2 separate regions of the Homo sapiens genome follow, and region 2 is linked to region 1. Evidence: promoter capture Hi-C in 16 types of primary human blood cells and fetal thymus (Javierre and others, 2016). All regions are on one chromosome and are shown on one strand. The core of a region is centred on a gene start or on the middle of the fragment in contact, and the rest is flanking DNA. Distances in the headings are between cores, read along the strand shown.

The links. Contacts are between HindIII fragments. The CHiCAGO score rates a contact against its expected background, and 5 or more counts as called.
Region 2: a contact is called between a fragment that was not itself captured here and the fragment with the promoter of SLC18A3 in region 1, in 10 of 17 cell types (M2 macrophages, M0 macrophages, fetal thymus and 7 more). The highest score is 16.1, in M2 macrophages.

The regions. Positions count from the first base shown.
Region 1 is chr10:49,605,266-49,612,400 of GRCh38, forward strand. SLC18A3 (solute carrier family 18 member A3) reads left to right here and starts at 5,045. Exons shown (of 1, transcript NM_003055.3): 1 at 5,045-7,135. The coding sequence starts at 5,476. The coding sequence ends at 7,074. It also overlaps a transcript of CHAT not described here. RefSeq lists a silencer at 1,718-2,012 and enhancers at 3,382-4,177, 4,178-4,972, 6,017-6,913, 6,914-7,135. The HindIII fragment of the contact is 17,270 bases long and covers 119-7,135 here.
Region 2 is chr10:50,246,496-50,252,899 of GRCh38, forward strand. ASAH2 (N-acylsphingosine amidohydrolase 2) reads right to left here and starts at 5,021. Exons shown (of 21, transcript NM_019893.4): 1 at 4,900-5,021; 2 at 1,989-2,151. The coding sequence starts at 2,115. RefSeq lists a silencer at 4,974-5,268. The HindIII fragment of the contact is 928 bases long and covers 3,881-4,808 here.

The sequences.
Region 1 (7,135 bases), core at 3,795-6,294:
TTGTGGAAGGAAGGCCACCATGTGGGGAGATGATGCTGACTCCAGTCCCAGGCAGCAGGGGTCCCTGAGAGGTCTGTGAACAGACTGGAAGCTTGCCTGAAACTTTGCAGAGAAAAGAAGCTTGGCATCCCTGCAGGGGTGGATTGTCAGGGTCTGGAGGCAAGGGACAAGTGAAGGGATTAACTGTCCCACTGTGGGGGAAGATGTAGGATCTGGGCTGGGGGCAGGCAGGGAGTGGTCTCAATGGAGGAGGGAAATGAATCTGAGACATTAATTGGATTGAGACGGAAAGAAAGTGGAGAGAACAGAAACCAAAGGGATTTGGAGGCCATGCTTCCAACGAATGATTCATAGTTAGTGTCAGGGAGCCAGAAAAAAAGCAAGTGAGCAAGGTCCTGTCCCTGGGAGCTGTAGAGAGGAGCCCTGGGGCCCACCCACAAAGCAGCACCTGCAGTCTCTTTCCCTCTCGAAGCCCAGCTATGTTGTGCACAAAGCAAGTCTGGGCACCGAGGACAGGCTGGCCAAGGGCAGGCAGGCAGGCACGTAGTCCTCTGGCTTCCAGCCACCACACTCACAGGTTTCTGGGAAAGGCTGACTGGGGCCACTTTGTTCCTTTGAATCTGAGAATATATGACTGGGGAAGCCTAAATTAATTAAATGATGCTGAGGCCCGCCTGAGCCGGTGCACAGGGGATGGGTTATGGAGCCCTGAGCAAACTGCACCCCTAGCCCCCAGTGCTGGAATCCAGAGAGGCTCATGAGCTCGATTGGAACGAAGCCTGTGCTTAAGTGCTTCCAGAGAGACAAAGAAATAATAAATCAGGAGCAGGTGCCCCACCCACACACTGCCATCACCAACACCAGCCTGCTTCTCCACAGAAATACAGTGGTTTCACCTCTCTGGAACCAGATGTTTCAGGGAAGCAACAAATGGCAAAGCCCTGGAAATGACATGGCCCCACAACCTTCTCAGAAATGAGGCCAGGCTGGGCTGGCACCTCCATCCACAGCAGCACCCCACCACCACAACCCACCCAAGACCTCCAAACACCCCCTAGACCTCACCCAGGCACTGGTGCAGCATGGCTATCCTTCCACCCCTCCCAAACTCCCACACACCAGGACTCCCCCATCCCCAGCAAGCCCCCCTCCCCTGACAGGGCACTGATCCAGCAAGGAAGAAATTTTAGTCCATCAGACTGTGGACACAGTTGTATCTTGTGGATAAAATGAGAAGAAGTGTTGTCAGCTAGAAATCACCAATTTGTCTCTATCCATATAAAATAATAACAATTAAACTCCTACTAGGTATCAAGCATTGGGCTAGACATGTTCAAGTGAGCTATCTCGCAGTCTTTAGCCATCCTGCAGCAGGGCCACATGGTGGCTGGGAGCAGGAAGCTGGAACTAAATCACCTGCATGGGAATCCCATCTTTACCACTTGTGAGCTCTCTGACTGAATACATTACTTTACCTAAGTGTCTTTGCCTATAAGAAAGTAATATGAAGGTTGGTGAGAGAATTCAATGAGTTAGTGCTTATCAAATGCTTAGAACGGTGCCTGATGCCTTATAAGCTCTACTATGTGTCTAGTAAATACGTTCCTTCCTTCCTCTACTCATTCAACTTTAATTGAGTACCAGATATGAACGCTGCCCTAACAGCTGCTATTTCTGGTTGAGAAAGGAGAGAAAAATGCTTCCGTTTTCTCCTACAGGATTGGACAGGAAGTTCTCTGTTGCCTGCAAGTTATGCTCAGATAGAGGAGTCCGGAAAGGAATTTACCAAGCGTTCAAGTGAAGAGGAAGCCAGAGGGGCGGGGCCTCCGTGGGAGGCTTCTTGGTTGCGGTGGGGCCGGGGCCAGCACCCTGGACAGCTCCCGGCGGCTGGCGGGGAGAAGAGGCTTTGCCAGGTCCCATCTCGGCTCAGACCCTCCCGTAGCCTTTTGCTGCAGGGGCCTGACGCCTCCTTGCAACCCCGGCACTCCCGTATTTGGAGCCACGATGGATTGGGGGGGCGTTGCCCTCTGATCTGAAAGTTAGAGAATGAGGGAGTTTAGTGTCTTTGGAGCCTCCTTAGGGAGCCAGCCCAGGACCTTCCTCCTCCCATGGGTCTTGATCTGCTCCTCACCCCTACACTGCCAGCGTGCGGCCACCTTGGAGATGGAGCAGCAGGAGCACGACGCCGTGCCGGGAATAGGGAAGCAGTGTGAGGACCACAAGACAGGTCCCCCAGCCTGGGTTTAATTCCAGGATCTGCTGCTGGGAGCTTGGGCAAGCACCCAGCATCTCCACGCCCAGCTTCCTCACCTGATAAGACCAGGGGAATAGCACCTACACTGCACCAGGATTGCAGGAGAATGGAGTAAAACAGCACACACAATACTCCTGGCACAAAGCAAGTAATAAATGAGTGTGCCTCCTGCCATACAGGAACCGAGGACTGGAGAGCTAGTCATGAGCCCAGAGATACCTGGCTTCATGCTCAGGAACAGCCATGTGGGCCAGAGGGCTGGAGATGTGGTCTGCACCTTGAAGGCCCTGGGAAAGTTCCTGTCCTCTATGATTCCTCTGTTCTTCAGCCACTAGACATAAAAAAAAATTGTCCTTCAAGTCCTCCTTCCTCCTTTCTTTAATCAGACAGGGGAAATAGCATGTGCATAAATAATAATTGTTTTGTAGGCTGGGAGACTGCCCCTTTAAGAGCCTCATAATGGGAGAGTCAGAAGAGCCCAGAGGTCTCAAACGGAAATGACTGGAGAACCAGCAAGTGGCATAAGTGTGTGAAGTCAGCTGGGGCGAGATTGGGATGTGCTGGAGAGTGTGCATGTACTGACGAAAGGCCATCAAATACAATTTAAAATAATTAGCCCACTCCAAAGAGTCTTCTGCAGCACGCACTTCTGCTAAGGGCTGCAGTGAGTGGGCTCTCACCTCAACCTGAACCAGACGGAGGCTGAGGCTGGGCCCCACTGAGGGGCTGTGACTTGCCCAAGGTCATCCAGGGCCAGGCCTGTGCCCACATTGGGACTCTTTTCCTCCCTCAGACAGAGGGCACTTCAGTCACTGCAGAGCAGGTGGCAGCAGCCCTTCAGTGGATGAGTTTCTCCTTTCCCAGGGTGACTGGGTGGGTGAAGGAATTGAGCAACAGGTGGCCAGGCTGCCGCCTCTCACCCTGACACATTGGTCCCCATCCCCTCATCCTACAGCCATCTCAGGGACAGATGGAGACATTCCAATGCCCTCCGGGTCCTCCACCAACCCAGACAGAGCCTGGAGTCACAATGCCCACCTAGCCAGAGGGATCAGCCAGCTAGCCAAGTGCCCCCTGTGTCTTTCATCTGTTCTTCACAAGACCCACAAGTGAAAAATGAGGATAAACCGCACATTCTACACACGATAACAACATAGCAAGTCCTTATACTGCTCTTACTGTGTGCCCGGCCCCCTTAGCAGTAGGTACTATTATTATTCAATTTTACAAAGAAACTAACTGAGGGACAGAGAGGCAAAGTAATTCCCTGCAGGTACTCTAATGAGTACGTGGCAGAGCTGGGAGCCATCCTGGTTGTCTGCCTCGAAAGACCACACTCTTTGCACTGCATCGCGGCACTTCCTGCGGGGTGGGGGGCACAATGGGAGAAGCATCTGCGTCTAATGCTGCTTTACTTTTGAGGCCAGAAAAATGGGAAGGCTCCCCTCTGACTCTGGAAGAGAGACGCAAACCGTAATCTCAACAACACAATCCCCACCTCCAACCTCAGCCGCCCTGGAGCCTCTCTCCCGCCAGTCCGCCCACTGGAACACGGGTTCCATGTGCCATCCAGGGTCAACGCCGCTCTGGGGACGCGTCAGGCCCAGCGCACAGCCTGGGCAGCTCAGCCTGTCAGCTGAGCACGGGCGCCTCAAGGGGTGCGGCCCTCTCAGAAGGAAGGTGAGTCTCCCTGGAGCCCCTGACGACAGCGAAGCGGCTGGGCGCTCTCCGGGGAGTGGGCGCGGCACCCAAGAAGGGTTTCTTACAGTTCCAAGAGAGGACCCCAGCCACAGTCACTCCAGAGCCCACCCGGGGCTTGGAGGAGGCTCTGGAAAATGAGGGATGGGGGAGTGTGCAGAACAGGGGGCGGAGGCTGGCAGGAGCCGAGGGAGGGCTTGGTCGGGTGCGAAGAGTGCCTGGGAGGAGTTAGAGTGGGGAGGGGGTGCGGCGGCGGGGAGAGAAGAGGCGGAGCTGGGGGACCAGACCGCTAAAGGAGAAAGGGGGATTCCAGGCAAGGGGAATGTGGCCAGGCAGTGCGGGAGGGCGGCAGCGGCCAGGCTAATATTCGCGACCCCGACTGGGGCGCGGCAACTTCTGCCCTCAGTCCCCACAAGCTCCCGGCCGCGATTCGCGGCCGAGAAATTCTGCGGAGGGGCCGGTGGGTCAGAGCCAGGCCAGGCAGTTGCTGAGCCTTCCCCTCCCCTCCTGGCGGGAGTGTGTGTGCAAGGGGCCAGGGGGCGGAGTCGGAGAAAGGGTTGGGGGTGTCCGTGTCCAGCGCTCCTCCGGACGCGGCTCCACAATCCAGCTGCGAGAACAGATGGACGCAGCGGCGGCTCACCTCGGGGGCTTCCTGCTCGCTGTGCGCCGAGGTCCAGGCTGAAGCGGAGATCGCAAGCCTCTGGCTCCCGCCTCTCCCAAGGGGCCTCGAGGAACCGGCTGCCGCGCCCCCTTCCCCAAGAGGAGAAGAGCGGGCGCTGACCCCGCGAGTCCTAGAACCGCGGGCGGGGGGCAGGCAGGGGGCGGGGGGCAGAGGGCCAGCTACCGGCGCGGAACGCCCATCCCAGGGGCTGGTTCAAGACTTCCACACCGAGAGCCCTTCCTGGGCCTCCAGCCCTGGAGCATCTGGAGAGCGGACCCCTGCCCGGCCACGCCCCGCCCCCGGCCCCCGCCCCGCCGACGTCGCATTAGCATGAGCGACGTAAGTGGCCCGGGCACCACTCGGGGGCTGGGACTCGCCGCGTCACAGCCCCGAGTGGAAGGGAAAAAAAAAGAGGAGGCGGCGGAGGAGGCAAGAGCCGACGCGAGGGGAGGGGAGCGCAGCGGCGGGGCTAACGGGCGGGCAAGCGGGCGGGCGGCAACAGCATGTCCCTCGGCCAGCGCGGGCGGCCTCTTAGCGCGGCGGGGGCTGCTCTGGGCGCGCCCCGGGCGAAGTGCGCCCAGTCTCCGGCCCCGGCCCCTCGGCGCGCCCGACTTCCCGGCCGCCCCTGAGCCCAGCAGCCGCGGGTCCCGGGATCGGCTAAGAGTAGCTGCAACGCCTCGCCGGACGGAGTCCTTTCCTTTCCCGGGACGCTGGGCCATGAGCTCCGCGGCCACCTGAGGCACAGGGGAGTCTGCTCGGCCAGGACAGCCTCCCCGAAGTCCCGTGCCCTCGCCTCTGCACTGCGGGACGCCAGCGCTCGGCCCTGGCGGAGGCGTCCTCGGAAGAGCATCGGGGTGGGGGCATGGAATCCGCGGAACCTGCGGGCCAGGCCCGGGCGGCGGCCACCAAGCTGTCGGAGGCTGTGGGCGCGGCGCTGCAGGAGCCCCGGCGGCAGAGGCGCCTGGTGCTTGTTATCGTGTGCGTGGCGCTGTTACTGGACAACATGCTGTACATGGTCATCGTGCCCATAGTGCCCGACTACATCGCCCACATGCGCGGGGGCGGCGAGGGCCCCACCCGGACTCCCGAGGTGTGGGAGCCCACCCTGCCGCTGCCCACTCCGGCCAATGCCAGCGCCTACACGGCCAACACCTCGGCGTCCCCGACAGCTGCGTGGCCAGCGGGCTCAGCCCTTCGGCCCCGCTACCCTACGGAGAGCGAAGACGTGAAGATCGGGGTGCTGTTTGCTTCCAAGGCTATCCTGCAGCTGCTAGTGAACCCCTTGAGCGGGCCCTTCATCGACCGCATGAGCTACGACGTGCCGCTGCTGATCGGCCTGGGCGTCATGTTCGCCTCTACAGTCCTGTTCGCCTTCGCCGAGGACTACGCCACGCTGTTCGCGGCGCGCAGCCTGCAGGGCCTGGGCTCAGCCTTCGCCGACACGTCTGGCATAGCCATGATCGCCGATAAGTACCCGGAGGAGCCGGAGCGCAGTCGTGCACTGGGCGTGGCGCTGGCCTTCATTAGCTTCGGAAGCCTAGTGGCCCCGCCCTTCGGGGGCATCCTCTATGAGTTCGCCGGCAAGCGCGTGCCCTTCTTGGTGCTAGCTGCCGTGTCGCTCTTTGACGCGCTGTTGCTGCTGGCAGTGGCCAAACCCTTCTCGGCGGCTGCACGGGCTCGGGCCAACCTGCCAGTGGGCACTCCCATCCACCGCCTCATGCTAGACCCCTACATTGCCGTGGTGGCCGGCGCGCTCACCACCTGTAACATTCCCCTCGCCTTCCTCGAACCCACCATTGCCACGTGGATGAAGCATACGATGGCGGCTTCCGAGTGGGAGATGGGCATGGCCTGGCTGCCGGCCTTCGTGCCTCATGTGCTGGGCGTCTACCTCACCGTGCGCCTGGCGGCGCGCTACCCACACCTGCAGTGGCTGTACGGCGCGCTTGGGCTGGCTGTGATCGGCGCCAGCTCGTGCATCGTGCCCGCCTGCCGCTCCTTCGCGCCGCTAGTGGTCTCACTATGCGGCCTCTGTTTTGGCATAGCCCTAGTCGACACAGCACTGCTGCCCACGCTCGCCTTCCTGGTGGACGTGCGCCATGTCTCAGTCTATGGCAGCGTCTACGCCATCGCCGACATCTCCTATTCGGTGGCCTACGCGCTCGGGCCCATAGTGGCAGGCCACATTGTGCACTCGCTGGGCTTTGAGCAGCTCAGCCTTGGCATGGGACTGGCCAACCTGCTCTATGCTCCCGTCTTGCTGCTGCTCCGCAACGTGGGCCTCCTGACGCGCTCCCGTTCCGAGCGCGATGTGCTGCTTGATGAGCCACCGCAAGGTCTGTACGATGCGGTGCGCCTGCGTGAGCGTCCTGTGTCTGGCCAGGACGGCGAGCCTCGCAGCCCGCCTGGCCCTTTTGATGCGTGCGAGGACGACTACAACTACTACTACACCCGCAGCTAGCATCCCCACTCCTCCTCCAGCCCACCCAACCGCCTTGGGTCAAGGGGGCTGCTCTGCAAGC
Region 2 (6,404 bases), core at 3,095-5,594, 640 kb after region 1:
TGTAGTCAGAAAGTACTTAGGCAAGAGATTTATAGCTGATTCTTTCTGAAATCCTGGAAATTCAGAGCTCAAAAAACTTAGAGATCACCTAACATAATCTCCTCAGTTTTGCAGATGAGAAAACTGAAAGTCAGAAAAGTGACTTAACCAATAGTTAATGGAGAGCATGTGATGAATCTGGTATGCAATCCAGATCCTCAAACTCAGGATCTGATGCTCTTTCGACCAAATTCTAGGTGGAGTTAGCATCCATGTCTTCTCATTCCCAAGCCGAGATTTTCTTGAAGACATCAAATATTGCAAGGAGTGGAGCAGGCACCTTCGCTATTGCTTCACTGCTACCAGCATAGGAATGTCATGCCAACTAAAGCCAAACCTAACACATAGCCAAGGGTAAGTTATTTACAATCTCAGGGTCTCCGTTTCCCCAAGCGTAAAATGAAACTAATGTAAACAGTAGGACTAGCATCCACCCTTATAGGATTTTTGTGAGAATTAGATGAGAAAATATTCTAGAATCCTCACTATAGTGCTCAACATAGAAACCATTTAATAAACAGTAACTACTGCCATAAGAATAGTTGCTGTAATTAATAATAACCTCCCTGAGTCTCAGCCTCCTGATTTCCTAATTTTAAGAGCTAAAACTGAATAATTATTTTTCTTTTTTTTTTTTAAATGGAGTCTCACTCTGTCACCCAGACTGGAGTGCAGTGGCGTGATCTCAGCTCACTGCAACCTCTGACCCCTGGGTTCAAGCGATTCTCCTGCCTTGCCTCAGCCTCCCGAGTAGCTGGGATTACAGGCGTGCACCACCACAAACAGCTATTTTTTTTTTTTTTAATTTTTAGCAGAGACAGGGTTTTGCCACGTTGGCCAGGCTGGTCTCAAACTCTTGACCTCAGGTGATCTGCCTACCTTGGTCCCCCAAAGTGCTGGGATTATAGGTGTGAGCCACCGGGCCCAGCCAAAACTGAATAATTCTTAATGATCCTTTCACTTCTATCAGTCTATGACCCTGCTGTGCCTACTGCTGGATCAGAGGATCTCTGATCCTCTGTGTTTGCCAGGAATTCAAAGCCCTGGGACATAGTAGAGAATGTGCAGGAAAAGAGACAGGCTACAAAAGGGAAAACTGAGGTAGAAAATATCATCTTCTCCATTTGGCCTAAGGCCAGCCCTGTCTTTACTTTGGTCAGAGCTTCAATCTTTACCAGTCTTCTCTACTCATTTAACAGTTATGTAACCTAACACTGACTGGAACAGAGGCTCCACCAAGACCCACTGCCAATCTTTGTGTAAATGTAGCCTACGTTGTTCTCAAAAACTTTGTTTCCAACATTTTAAAAAATCATGAGATATCTAAAAATTCCAATTTCCAGGTTCTCTGGAAAACTCAGGAGATCTGAGATCATGTGTTCTCTCTACAACAAACAGCTGCCACCTGGGAGAGGCTGTAGGCCTTCTTCACAAGAATTGCACCTGTCTCCTCCTTGGTCCACCTCCTCACTCCACCTCATCTGCAAAACTTGATTAGCCCTTGTAAGGATTTACGTTTGAGACCCCTTTCTCTAAAGCTCTTCACAGACTAATTGACATTCATTCAGTGAGTCTTTCATTCTCCTTTTGCCCCCAGGAGAAAATGATGTCTACAAGGAGGCAAATTGAAAGATTAGAGGCTCATGGTAAAAGCTGCCATTACTAGACCTTGACGAATCTTGAGCTGTGCTTAGATCAATGGAAAAACTAATGGCAAACAAGTACATGTCAGAATGCCTGTCAGCTGGCTATTGGGGACAAAGGTAAACTTGATAAAAATTGCTATCAATGCAGAATGGGCAATTAATGCAAAGGGAGACGGCTATTCCAGGCTGCTTAAGTACACGTAGAACTATCAGCAGACACTGTTTTTCTCTTTGGTGTCCACAGTAATCAAGAAGTTTCATACAGGCCTAAAAATTGCATCTAAGAGAGCCCATGACACTTGCCTTTGTGGTTTTCAATGGTCCCACTGGTGATAAACAAGAGGCTGAGAAGGGCCACTGTGATGGCACTCATCATTACAAGGAGGAAAATCAGGAATGTCTCCAAGTTAGAGAAGGTGCGTTTGGCCATTTCTTCTCAGGTACAGCAGAGATGGAAGAAGAAATACTGAAGAGGAAGAAATCACAAATTAAAATGCAAATGCTTTAAGCCAACCGAGGTTAAGATATCTTAGCTCTTTCATATTAATAGACTATACCAAGAACGACAAGTACAGAGCACTTACCACTCATTCCATAGACCAAGCCCATGGCAGACAAGACCAATCAATTACAGCATTCTTTTTGAAAAGCTCGAATGTGGTTTCCAAATCTTTCTCAACACAACACTCCTCCTGGCAGCAACCATTCATGATTTAGCATTGGCCACTGAGCTCAACTGAGCTAAAATCTATTTGCATTCCTCAGCCATATCACACTGCTTTCATTTATGGCGATGATGCTGTTTATGGATCTGTACATGGGTCTGGGCTGAGAGTGCCTCTGTTAACAAGGATGACTGATGCACGCATACTTCTTGTATTTGGGAGAAGGCTGGCTGGGGTTAGGACAGTACTCTGTGGTCATGGACTTAGTAGAATTATCTTGTTCACCTGGAGGTGAAACCCGTAACTTTGGCCTTTACACTCTATGTTTTAACTTTCAATTACTATCTGGTGAGAAATGGGCATGGAAAAGGGAATTAGTACCTCTGGTCTGAAGGCAGGCATTACAAAAAACATCCCCCTTCAGTGATCAGAAGGATCCCAAACACTTTGCAAACCCTGTATCAAAGGATGAGAATTTAAAATGTTCCTATGTTCTACAAAAGTATCAAATGTCATTACAGATTCCTTAAGATGTTTTAAGGGAGGGAGAATTAATCATTACTCAGAGGAACTATACAAGTTAAAACCCCATATAATGTAATAGAAAGAAATATAATATGGTGGTTAAAAATTTAGTTTTGAAATCTGACTCCAGCAGTCAAATTTCATTTCTGCCACTTACTGGATGACTTTGGGAAATCCTCCCCCAATACTGAACATCAGCTTCACCATCTATAAATAGGAATATGATTATGATCATCTTATCTCAAAGTTCTTATAAAACCTATCTCATAAATTTCTTATAAAAATAAGATGAGATGAAGCAACAGTACTTCTTTTGTTCAATAAATGCTCAAACTGGTAGCATTTTTTAATAGATTCCAAAGTAGCAAAGAGTCTGTGCTCTTCCCTGTCCTTTAAGGGAATTTACAGGAGGCTAGTGTTAAAGGATGATTGGAATCACAGGTGGGACCTTCAGAGCCCATTTTCTTAACCTGTGCTTTAGGAAGCCTGAGAGGTGAAATGGTATTGGAATCCCAGGATTTGCCCCCAAAATAGGGGATTTGTGGCTAAGATGCTGCTACCCCCAAGAGTTAATAAATGGCAACAATGTAGATGTATTTAGTACAGTCAATTTTTTATTCAATTTGACTTAGGTAACAAGATATAAAAAAATAGCATTCAGAGTTTATAAAGAGTTTACATTTACAATCCTGAAATTTCAAATTATCTCCTAAAATAATTCGTAAAATATGATGACACTGAGCCAGCATTCCCGTGTGCCAAGAGTTTCCTAAAACTCAGTGCTGTTGTTCTCTTTAGATGGGGGATATATTCTTCAACCTGCCAATCTCTACCCAGCAGGCCTTATTTATCTAAGTTACTACCTGGTCTGTGCAAGCATTTGATTTTGCAATTCCTGGGCTAGAGGTGAAAGATCAGTCTAACAGCAGACACTTCAGAGGGTAGGCTGAACTGGGAGTGGGCAAAGAGACTGGAACATCTTCCCAAATTTTCTGGTTATTGGGAAGCTTTCCTCATCCACTTATCACCACCATAATGCCCTTAACCACCAGCAGCAGGGACAACTTCAAATGTGGAGCAAAACAAGTCAGATCTGTGACTTATGATCAACTTCTATTGTCAGTTTCCAGGAGTCAGGAAACACATCTAAGACATGCCTCTGAACTCTAAGGATCTACAGATAATTACTACTCATTAGCAGCTGTTTCACCAGCAAACTTCAAACCCAGTATCTCTAGTTTTTGCTCAGGGCTTTGGTTCTCTAAGCCTTCCTACTAGCCAAGATGACTGACAGCTGGACCTCCCAACCCCAGAGCATGGACAGGCAGATTGTGTATGTAAATGTGGTCATGTGTTAGAAGCCTGTGTATCAAACAGAGAGGGTACAAAATAATACTTCTTTTTTGTTTCTAGTTTTGCGTTGGTGAGCTGATGATATTTTATGCCACTCAACAATGGCACTTGATTTAACATTAGTGTTTCCACCTATTACGTGGACTTGAATGATCTACCTCATGTGTTTCATCATTCTGTTTAGCTGCCAGAATTGTTGCCAACACAGTAACATTCTTTTTGAACCACTTTAGCTAACTTGACCACCACCTTTAAGGAACTTAAAACTTGGGTTAGCACTATTTATTTCTCATTGGTGATTAAAATCTGAATTTGAATGTTAAAGCAGATGCCTTCCCTGCCTTTAGAATGAAACACTCCTTGGTAGAGCTAAGCCAATAATTATATCTTAAAGGATTCTAGATTTTATAATGGTTCACACTTAATCTGTAATAATCCTGAAAACTCAGTAATGAGGCTCTCATGGCACAATAGCAAGCCGTTTGCCACATCTTCACATAACGGGGTCCCTGTTTTTCAAGGAGAGAGTAAAAGGTAACAATTTGGCAAAAGAGGGTTCCAAAGCTATGAGATAAATTGAAGCTTTAGGGTCTCTTCAAGATCTCTGAGACAATAGGATAATTCAAGAGCCCTCCTTCCCTCCTTCCCCAAGAAAACATAGCTGTCCTTACCTGATTCTAGTACTCAAAAGAGGTTTTGCATCCCAGTGAAGCAAATGGCCATCCAGAATCCTGTCCCCTTTCCCCTTGCACGTTGCTGGGCTTACACCTCTCAGCACTTTCTGAAACCTACTGAGAAAAATTTTCAGTCAAGTCCAGGAGTGTTAGAGCTCTCATTAGCATACCTTTGTGGGCTTGGTACAAGTATGAGATTAAAGAGTATTGATAACAAAAGGCTTATACATGAACTCTCTCTTAGGGCAGACTGTTATCAAAGATAGAAGTTGCAGAAGGCCTGCTGGACTGAAGGTCATTTCACTTTTTCTGTAACTTTTCCAGCATGACAAGTTCTGTGCAAAGCTTATAACCTGAATCACAAAAAAACAAAACAAAACAAAAAAAACACCTACTTCATTTAACACTGGTCGTTCTACAGCAAAGAGATTAGTAATATATGCTGGACATCAGTGTGGGCTGTGGATAGCAATGGGCAATATTTCCACCAATTTCAGAACAGAAAACTAATCAATTTTTATGAGTGCTCATAAAAAGAATGCAAAATTTTAGATTTACTAAATGTGAGTAGTAACTAATACAGCAAGACTGCTATGCAACTATTAAAAATCACACTGAAAATAATTTAATGACATGCAAAAATTGCCAAATATTAAGTAATTTTAAGTTTATAAAACAATACGATCCCATTTGTAAACATTACATATGTTTACTTTATATACATCATATACTTTATATATATTACATATTAAAGACTGTAAGTACAGGAAAATGTTAAGAGGTAATTATCTGGTGATTATGGGTGGTTTTGTTTTCATTGTTTTGTCTCTTGGTATTTTCTATCATAGGCATGCATCACTTTTGAAATGGGGAAATAAAATGTTTTCCTTCCTCTTGGAGAATATAGACTACAGCATGAAGTTAAACAATGGACCATGGAGACAAAGGAAGCAATAAAGAAACCAACCAACCCATTCCCTTTTTTTCCCTAGTAAAATCTAAGCTGTCTAGGACACATTTTAAAGAAGGCCATAAAAGCCGCTTAATTCCTTGCAGAGTTTGATCAGAGACAGGCCTGCAAAGTTCCAACTGAAGTATTAAAGACACAAGTTCCTTCAGATAGGGCATTTAGTAATGCATCTTAAATTTCTCTCTGCTGCTACAGAGGGAGAAAGATTAAATCATGATATTAAACAAGGTTTTTTTAGTGCATTTATGTTAGAATTCTTGGTTGCAAGCAAACACCAAATCTAGTTAAGGTAGGAAAAGAGGGGAAAAAGAGACAAAAAGTAAATTCACTGGAAGACAGCAAGAAAAGCTGCAGACCCAGGATCAGGATGGCCAGGAATCAGGGCATCTCTGCGTATCTAGGTAGCAGGAGCTACCGAACAATCTCTTCAGGGCATCACCATTGAGATGGATGGACTGCAACTACTTTAGGTCTTGTGTTGCTCCACTCAGGAGCCAATTTCTGAAAGACAGCTATATAATAACTTTATCCT